Linked DNA regions of Homo sapiens: region 2 is linked to region 1. The links are contacts of gene promoters, found by promoter capture Hi-C in blood cells and fetal thymus (Javierre and others, 2016). All regions are on one chromosome and are shown on one strand. The core of a region is centred on a gene start or on the middle of the fragment in contact, and the rest is flanking DNA. Distances in the headings are between cores, read along the strand shown. Region 1 holds the start of RDH14 (retinol dehydrogenase 14). Region 2 has its middle 26 kb from the start of LINC00954.

Region 1 (4,492 bases), core at 812-3,311:
ATAGAGTTATTAATTTCATGGCCTTTGGACCCATCTGGTACAGATTAATCATTTCATTAAGTTCCATGCATAAACTACACAGCAGTTACACTGCAGGTCTAAGGATTCCTCCCTCCTCTTTTCCTCCTACCCTCTCCTGCTCTCTCTACCTCCACCTTCATCTCTACTCCACCTGTACATATGTATTCCACCCCTGGCTCTAGATGAGAGAAGACCACAGCTGAAACACATCTTCTGATGCTCCCTAATTTTATGTAAACCAGTCCAAAATATATCAGTTGTGACATGTGACACTGAGTACCTACCATTTTGTAGGTGTCCTCCCATGCAAAGACCACAAGAGGTACGCAGACACAATCCTATCCTCTAGGAAACTTGAAACCTTAACAATCTGGTCAAGGAAGTCAAATGTGCAAACTCAAACAGCCAATACTAGAAGGCTGTTTGTCTTCAGTGCCAGTGAGGGTCACACATGACCCTGAGGGTCACACATGAAGGGAGCAGAGATCTTTATAGGCTGGAAGTGGTCAGGAAAGAAAGACTTGAGGTAGCCTGTGATTTTGATGGATGGGCAAGATGTGGATGGGTAGAAAGGACAATAAAGTGGAAACATATGCTGGGGGATCAATGAGTTTGAGTAGCAGCTTCAAATTGGGGATAGGGTGGTGTAGGACCACCTCTCATGATTCCTGTTCCTGGTGCCTTGTATAATCCCCAGTAAGAGTGCTCTTTCCCACCTCTGAGCTCCATTCTCATTACTCATAAGAAACCTCCTGGAATCCATCCCTTTTTCTTTGTATTCTGACTATTAGTTGCATGTTACATCCTTCCCAAATGTAAGGGAGTGGAAGATGGATTATCACAATTATTGGGGAGTTTGTCTCAAACGACACAAGCTGTGGTTCTTTTTCCTTGTCTGGAGAACCTGCAATGGGTGGAGGGTGGGAAGTGGGAGATCACAGTTCCAGAAAGTAAGCACCCTGAGAGCAGAAATGGTGTCCCATTTCTCTGTGGCTCTAACAGGGAACAGGCAGGGCCAGGCACATATTGGATGGAGAGGCAGACGAACGAATGAGTCTTTAAAAGTAGCTTGGTCTACAGCTATGAAGTTTGTAGCTTGAAGAAGGGTCCCTGTGACACTAACCCTGATATTAATGAGGCATTTTACAGTGAGCCAAGCACTTTGCCTTCCATCGTTGTGTGTAATAGTCCTATGGAGAGGGCAGGGAGGCATTTGTAAATGGCCTGCTCAGAAGCCTATATTTACAATAAGTCCAAGCTTTTCCCACTGTACCTCTGCCAGTGTGAAGATCATTTGAAGATGGCTTTCTTTTTTTTAATAGGGACCAATGACATAATGTCTTGTTCAGTGGTTCTCAAAGTGTGGTTCCCAGATCTGCAGCAGCAGCAGCACCTGGAAACTTGTTAAAAGTGCAAATTATCAGGCCCCATCCTGTACCTATTGAATTAGAAACTCTAATACTGGGGCCCTGGTTTTTTGTTTTCGTTTTGTTTCATTCCCCCACCCCGAACCCCCACCCCAAGTCCTCCAGGTGATTCTGATGTGCATTTAAGTTTGAGAACTACTCGACCATTCTATTTCCAACTGATTCATGTTGCTTAATTCTTTGTCTCATCTATGAAAAACAGTCCTACCTCAGACTTCAGCTTGTCAGGGCCCATTCCTCAGAAGGTGAATTGAACTGAATTTACAAGTCCCAAGAGCCCTCAAAGGAAAACACACGAAATGCCCTGAGGAGTGGCATTTGTAACAGGGCCTGTACAGAGATCTGTGATTCAAAGTACTCATCAGACATTCCCATGGGGAAGTCCGCCACTACTCTGGGATTTCAATACGTATGAACCCCAGCACCCTGAACACTGTGCTGGTTGCCCAGCCTCCATCATTAGGCTGGGAGGAGCTTCCACGGAGGGCGCAGGACCCAGGGCGCTGAACTCTCACAACCAATCAGGCGACCCCCCCAGAGGGAAACTACAAGTCCCAGCATGCCCCACGCGCACCGTCAGGGGCCGACCCGCCGCGCCCCAGCGTTCTCCGCGTACAGGTGGTCTCTTGGGTTCCGGTAAGGCGGCGGCTGCGGAACTCCCGTGGAGGGGCCGGTGGGCCCTCGGGCCTGACGATGGCAGTGGCCACTGCGGCGGCAGTACTGGCCGCTCTGGGCGGGGCGCTGTGGCTGGCGGCCCGCCGGTTCGTGGGGCCCAGGGTCCAGCGGCTGCGCAGAGGCGGGGACCCCGGCCTCATGCACGGGAAGACTGTGCTGATCACCGGGGCGAACAGCGGCCTGGGCCGCGCCACGGCCGCCGAGCTACTGCGCCTGGGAGCGCGGGTGATCATGGGCTGCCGGGACCGCGCGCGCGCCGAGGAGGCGGCGGGTCAGCTCCGCCGCGAGCTCCGCCAGGCCGCGGAGTGCGGCCCAGAGCCTGGCGTCAGCGGGGTGGGCGAGCTCATAGTCCGGGAGCTGGACCTCGCCTCGCTGCGCTCGGTGCGCGCCTTCTGCCAGGAAATGCTCCAGGTGTGGGCCTCGGGGGGCCGGGCTGGTGGGGAGGGCCTGGGCACGGTGTGGGAGGGGACTGCGGGCTGGGGCTGAGCCGCGAGGGACCGCCCTGGGGTTCAGGGTGTCACCTTGGGAACCGCTGAGGCTGAGAGGAGTCCAAAAAGCCACTTTGAGGCGGCCGGGAAGCTGCAGGGTTGAGAGGGAAAGAGAAACTAACTGGGAGGGCTGCCTTCTGTCCTCTAAGGATGTCGAAAAAGAAATGGGCCCAAGAGAAAAATAAATAAACCAGTTTCTGAACGTTTCATTTCGTTACGTGAGGACCGCCCCGAAGTAGATCCATGGCCTCTGAATTGTTTTTCCTGTGTCAGAAGTGAATTTGCACCAAGCTGTGTCTTCAGAACCCCTGAGCACTGGGGGAAGTTGCTAGCTAAGGACCTCATATCAGTCCTTTAAAAAAAGTTCTCCTTCCCCCGGCCTCTGCCCCTTTTCTGCTGGGGTAAGGAGCTCGCTGCCACCAGTAAACTCAGCACCATCCTTAACGGGACTGTGGCCTGATTTCCAAGTAGAATACATTTTGGAACCCAGTGGTCATGCTCCATACAGAGACAGGAATAAAAATAACACCCAGCATTATTGAAGATCTGTATGCCAGGAGCTGTGCCAAGCATTTCAGATTTTCCTTTTTGTCTTAAATGAAAATGAAGTGTCCTTGCCTATAACTGTCATTGAAGCTACACAGTAACCCTGTGGAGTAGGCATTATTATCATCCCTGTTTTACAACGCGAGGAAACTGAGGCATAGGAAGGCTAAGAAACTTGCTTGTGGTCTGTCTCCAGAACACTTGCTTTTAACCCTTGTTCTTTCCTCCTGCTGCCTGGCAGTGAGGTGTGAGGATTTCTTTGTGCAAATGGTAAGTAATTCCACATAAGTGGATGTTCTCCGTTGAGATTGAGGTAGAAGAGTTTCTTGCAGGGATAACTGGCATTCAGAGGGCATTTGTTCAGAAGAGTGAAATTTAAAATTAGCTGGGACAAGAAAGGTGCCTATATGACGTAGAGTCTCTTGAGTCTAGAGAAGAGGTTCCCAAATTTTCTCAGTAATTTTTTCATGATGCCCTTAGGCCAGAAATATTTCCCAGTTCATTTATTTAGAAAGTTTATTTTGCCAAGGTTAAGGATGCACCCGTGGCAGAACCTCAGGCGGTCCTGAGGACATGTGCCCAAGGTGGTCGGGGCACAGCTTGGTTTTATACATTTTAGGGAGACATGAGACATCAATCACATATGTAAGGTATACATTGGTTCTCCTGGAAAAGTGGGACAACTCGAAGTGGGGGCTTCCAGGTCATAGGTAGATGGGAGACAAAAGGTTGCATTCTTTTGGGTCTTTGATTAGCCTTTTACTGAATACAATTTACATGTGCAGGAGGGATAGAGGAATAATCACTTATGTCTTAGACTGGCTCAGTGAGTCTGCATTTTCACATAAACAATACGGCAGAGTCAGCAATCAGATAAGCATTTATCTCAGGTGAGCAGAAGGATGACTTTAGAGTTCTGTCTTTTGTTTGGCACTTGTGAAGATGAGCTATCAATTTATGAATACATTGCCAGGGTGAAATTCAACAGAAGTGTTTTAGGGTAAAGATCTTGAGGCCCATGTGGGCAAATTATGAGGGTGATATGTAGCTTCTTTTTCTTTGTAGCTATCTTATTTAGGAATAAAATGGGAGGCAGGTTTGTCTGAGGCAGTTCCCAGCTTGACTTTAACCTTTGACTTAGTGATTTTGGGTTCTGAGATTTATTTTCCTTTGACACAACCTAATAAGTAGTTATGTCCTAACAACTTAGTAGCTATTTGAGAAGATAACATAATTGAAAGAAAAAAATAATATGTTTATTTTGTTCTTAAACAGCCATAACTACTAATGGGAAATGTATCTCTGTTGGTCATTACACCAGTGTCTGAAACCTTG
Region 2 (4,492 bases), core at 740-3,239, 1.3 Mb before region 1:
GAAGGGGCTTTGAAAAGCTTCTCGCCTGTTAGCTGTCCAATATGCTTGAAAGGATACCAGCCTAATGAGTGAAGTTTTAGTAAATCAAGACCATGTGGTCAGCTCCCCCTTGAGATGCTCCTAGTTTAAGAAATTGGTGGGTGGGAAACATTTTTGGCAATCACCCCTGAAGCTTCTCTTATATCCTCTTTCTTTTTGCTCTTCAACCCCCAAATCCGAAAGAATCATATGGTTTATTTTTAAAACAGAAACAGCCCTGGATTGCCCGGTCTCCAGGGGCAAGAACATCTCTTCCCATCATTCAGGTCTAACCTGGGGACAGAAGGCAGCCCTGGTGTGAGGGACAGAGGCTTGGGGTCAGGGGTGGTGGAAGACGGGGCATCTTTTGTGCTCATAGTGGGCCAGATGACATGGGGAATCCCAGCGTTTGCCTGCAATGCCTTGGAAAGAGCAAGCTGGAGCCCAGAGAGGTGTGGGAATTGGCTCAAGGTCATCCAAGGAGGCAGCACCAGGGTTGGCTCCTTCGCCCATGCCTCCTGCTTCCAATTTGGGGTTCTTTCTATTGAGAAGTCTCAGATTTGAACGTTGGGGTGGGGTTTGAAGAAGAAAAATCTTAGAGAAAGAAGAGGAAAGACTTTAGATTATAGAAATGAGCAAGGGAATTCCGGGATGATGGGAGAGAGGAAAGTATGAAGGAGCAGGGGAATAAGCTCATCAAGAGTGAGAGAATTGTGTGATCAGAGCCCACAGGGCATGGCTGCAATGCAGTGAGTCAGGAGTGTTTGGATCAAGCCTGCCCCACATTGTAATTCCATAGAATGGCTGTTTCTGAGGGTAGGAAGCCTGCAGGGGTCTAAGGCCAGTGTTCCATGGCAGTTTATATTGCAGGGAGCCTTGGGGGCTGGCACTCAGGTTGGGGGAAATTGGTGTTGTCAGACAGATCTTGCCTTTGCTCCCCATCCAGGAATACACTTGAACTTGACTGTGGATTGGGCAGAACTGGCAGTGTGAACTTTCACACATTCCTGACCCTTGCTAAACTGTTCATGGCTCTCCAGCAAAGGCATGGGTGAGCAGGGGGAGCACCCTGGTCCCCTGGGCTTGAGTCTGAGCCCCACTACCTTCTCACCCAGTGACCACTGGCACATGTGTTCCCTCCCCCAGGCCTTCCTGTCCTCATCAGTGGGTGGTCTCAGCACTTCTTGCCCTTCTACCCATGGCGGGCCCCCTTGTTTGTGTGTTTAGCTCGCTCTTCTCTGTTCTTCTGGCAATAGTGCTCCCTTCTTCTCCATGGATGGCCTCTCCTCCATGTGAATTGAGTGCTCCTCATGGAGGCTGCCAGCTGTACTCACTCTCCTCCCAGCCCTGCTCATGATCAGAATGAGGTCAGTGGTCTCATCCCACTCCTCTGGCCACAGTCATTTTATAAGAGAATGTCAGGAAAGAACATGACCAAAATTGTTCCTGAACATATAAGACACCCACTGGTGAAATCTTCACTAAGAAATAAGAGAGAGAGACTTGGAGGGGTGCTGAGTCCATGTGCAGTGCATGGAAGCTAAGAGCCTCCATTGTGCTGTTGTTAATGTGACCAGATGTCAACCCATGGGCTGGTGGGGACTGAGAGGGTATTGAAATACAATAGGGTTGCATCTACTTGGTAACTTTTGCTCTCCAGGGAGAGAAATCCCAGCACAAACCAGGGTAAGCAAAAAGAGAACTTATCAACTCACTTCTCTTAAAAGGCAGAGGTTGGGCTGGTTTCAGGTGGCACTTCACTCAGTCAATGTCACCAGGGTCTAGCCTCTCTCTCGTCTCTCCCTCTTCCTCACCTTCAACTCCACTTCCTCTGGATTGACTCCATTTGGAGGCCAGATCCGTCTCTCAGGGTACTAAATGGCAGCCTTAGCTCCCAACCTGATATTCCCTCAGATTCAAGTCCAGCAGGAAATATTAATAGCAGCGGTCTCTTTCCCAGAAAATTCTGCCAGTGTCTCATTGCCTCTCATTATTTCTGACTGAGTCCCAAATTAATTGTTGTGACTGGGGAGCTGTGATAATCTAGTTGGTTTTTAGGCTTACATTATAGGCTCCAGCCCTAATTATGGTGAGAAGCTCCACCAAAACCTAGGATCTAAGAGTGGAGGAGAGAATACATTTATCAGCAGAAGGGTGAGTAGATCCTCAGAGGCAAAGGCCACAGGAGTCTCTCTCAGAGACCTTTAGCACTCAGCAAGCTGCCCACACCTCAGAGCCACTTTCACATTCTCTGTTCATCGTCATGGACACTGTAACTGCTATGAGGTGATTCAACACTTGGTTCCAGTGGGAAAAGGAATGACCATTAAAGAATGCCAAAAACTATTGCTGGAGATAGATGTATAGAGAAACTGGGTGGGTTAAGAAAATGAGCGTTTGAAGTTTTGGACAAATTAGAAGAAGGAATGTTGAATTCAGCAGGGACTCACTCCAATGGTGTAAATGAATTTACCAGGAGTTCTATAAGAAAACACCAGGCATCTCCTGAAACCATTTTAACAGCTTCTCTAATGGTTCAAAATGGCTCCCCAAATGAGAGAAAACTAATGGAAGTTGGAAAAACAGTTACCTGTGATTCAAGAGAAAGCCTGGATCTGGTACAAACATTTGAATTTCCTTGACTCTATAGTTCATAGACATCTAAGAGTGCATCGCTTATGGAAGTTAAGGGCCCACCCTTCTTTCTGCCTTTTCTGCTGCAGAAGCAGTCTTGGTATCACACAGGAACGTAGGAGACTGTGATTTTTGCATGTCCAGCACCTCGTTTTTCTACTTCAACAAGCAGCACCCCAGCTCTCCTTTGGGCGAAATCCCCTTCCCCCATGCTCATTTCATGCAGTTCAGGTGGGACCAGCAACCGACCCCCACCCACCTGTAAGCTGCTCCAGAGTGAACGTGTGACCCAGGGCTGGCCGATCTGCTTATTCCATCTCCCTGGTCACAGTAATTGGTTCAAGAATGGGCAGATGGCTCAAGTCAGTGAATCAGAATCAATCATGGAACTTCTATTGGAGCTATGAGGAAAGGGCCATGAGGGTGCTAAGCTGGTAGGATGTTCACTGAGAGCCACTGGTGGAAGCATTGCTACTTCAGACAGAGCCTGAGAATGAAGGCGACACAGAGACAAGCAGCGCCAAAGTTTGGTGAGAGATACGGTCCTGTCCACAGCTTCTGAGGGCCTGAATCAGCCATGCCTGAATTTAGACCTATCCCTAGAATTTTCAGATACAGTGAGTTCTGTGTGTGGGTTTCTCCTTCTCCTCCCTTTCCCCTCCCCTCCCCTCCCTCCTTCCCTTCCTTTCCTTTCCCTTCCCTTTCCTTCCCTTCCCTTCCCTTCCTTCTTTTTCCTCTTACCCACTCTTATTCTTCTTTCCTTCCCTCCTTTTTCCTCTTCTTCTCCCTTTTTTTCTTCTTCCTCCTCCTCCTTCAGCCAGTTTGATTCATTCATTTAATAGATATTCACTGAGTGACCATTATGTGTACCCTTCAGTGTTTTTTCCAGACCATCAAATGTGACTTGGAAGTAATACAACATTTGTTATTTATGAAGACTTTTTTCATCCATTCGCTCATTATACCCCTCCTAGCAAACTGATAAAGTGTGTTACTTAGAACTCTGGCTACAAGTGACAGAGATCCAGAACCCCTGTCTTGGGCTGGAGGGAGAGACAGTCACCATACCATTCCCTGGTATGGTTCCCATTCCCCTCCTTACACTATCTGTCTCCCCAGGAGTCTCTGCATCCCTTCACTCCTAAAAAGCTTCCGTGTATACCAGCTCATTTAAACAGATTCCAAGAGCAATGACCAGACTTCTACTCATGTGGCCAGAAAGACTGTGAATTCCAGCTTGGCTTTAGTTGGGTCACCCTATGATGTTATGCTGTTATTTGATGCAATGACAGTGCACCACCACTCCCCTTGGCCCTGTCCATTTTGTGCACCGCTGTCTTGGGTATGCTCTTGCTTCCAATCCCCAGCACTTGGAGCCTGCAGCTCTTCTTTGAAGGACTTCCCTCATACCCTTGGGCTACTGGTGCTGCTTTACTTTGCATAGAAGCCAGAAATGAGTGGGCAGTTACCTCTCCCCTGGACCAGTGACTGTGAGGGGAGGGGTTATGAAAGCCTTTGCTGAAGGTTTGTCAATCCTGAGGAGTCTTACAGCAGGATCGGACTCAGAGTGTCCTCTGTGGGTCTCTGCCTACGATCAAACTCACTTTCTTTCTTTCCTTCTCTGTTCTTACCAGTTTCTCCCAGTTAGACTTCCTTAAGAAATCACTTGAATGCAAACTCTCATTTCAGGGCCTATTTTGGGGAATCTGACCCAAGAACCCAGGCTTTCTCCAGCTCTGTGGGACAAGGAGAATGCTTGCTTCTCTAAGTGTGGTCTGTGATGGTCTACAGATTTCACAGACAAGCCACAATCTGTTCTTTGTCATCTAGCCCCTGTTCT

Evidence for each region. The method cuts DNA at HindIII sites, captures the fragments that hold promoters and counts their contacts. A CHiCAGO score of 5 or more calls a contact.
Region 2: a contact is called between a fragment that was not itself captured here and the fragment with the promoter of RDH14 in region 1, in 2 of 17 cell types (activated CD4 T cells and M2 macrophages). The highest score is 7.9, in activated CD4 T cells.

What each region holds. Positions count from the first base shown.
Region 1 is chr2:18,558,222-18,562,713 of GRCh38, reverse strand. It overlaps RDH14 (retinol dehydrogenase 14), which reads left to right and starts at 2,061. Exons shown (of 2, transcript NM_020905.4): 1 at 2,061-2,534. The coding sequence starts at 2,142. The region is part of intron 10 of NT5C1B-RDH14 (NT5C1B-RDH14 readthrough); the gene reads left to right. It overlaps LOC105373456 (a long non-coding RNA gene), which reads right to left and starts at 2,538. Exons shown (of 6, transcript XR_007086234.1): 1 at 2,023-2,538. RefSeq lists enhancers at 1,652-1,871, 1,882-1,931, 1,992-2,041, 2,852-2,901 and a silencer at 2,132-2,641. The HindIII fragment of the contact is 4,929 bases long and covers 1,282-4,492 here.
Region 2 is chr2:19,840,899-19,845,390 of GRCh38, reverse strand. No RefSeq gene overlaps it. Among named protein-coding and RNA genes, the nearest start is that of LINC00954, 26 kb to the left of the region's middle. The HindIII fragment of the contact is 3,629 bases long and covers 175-3,803 here.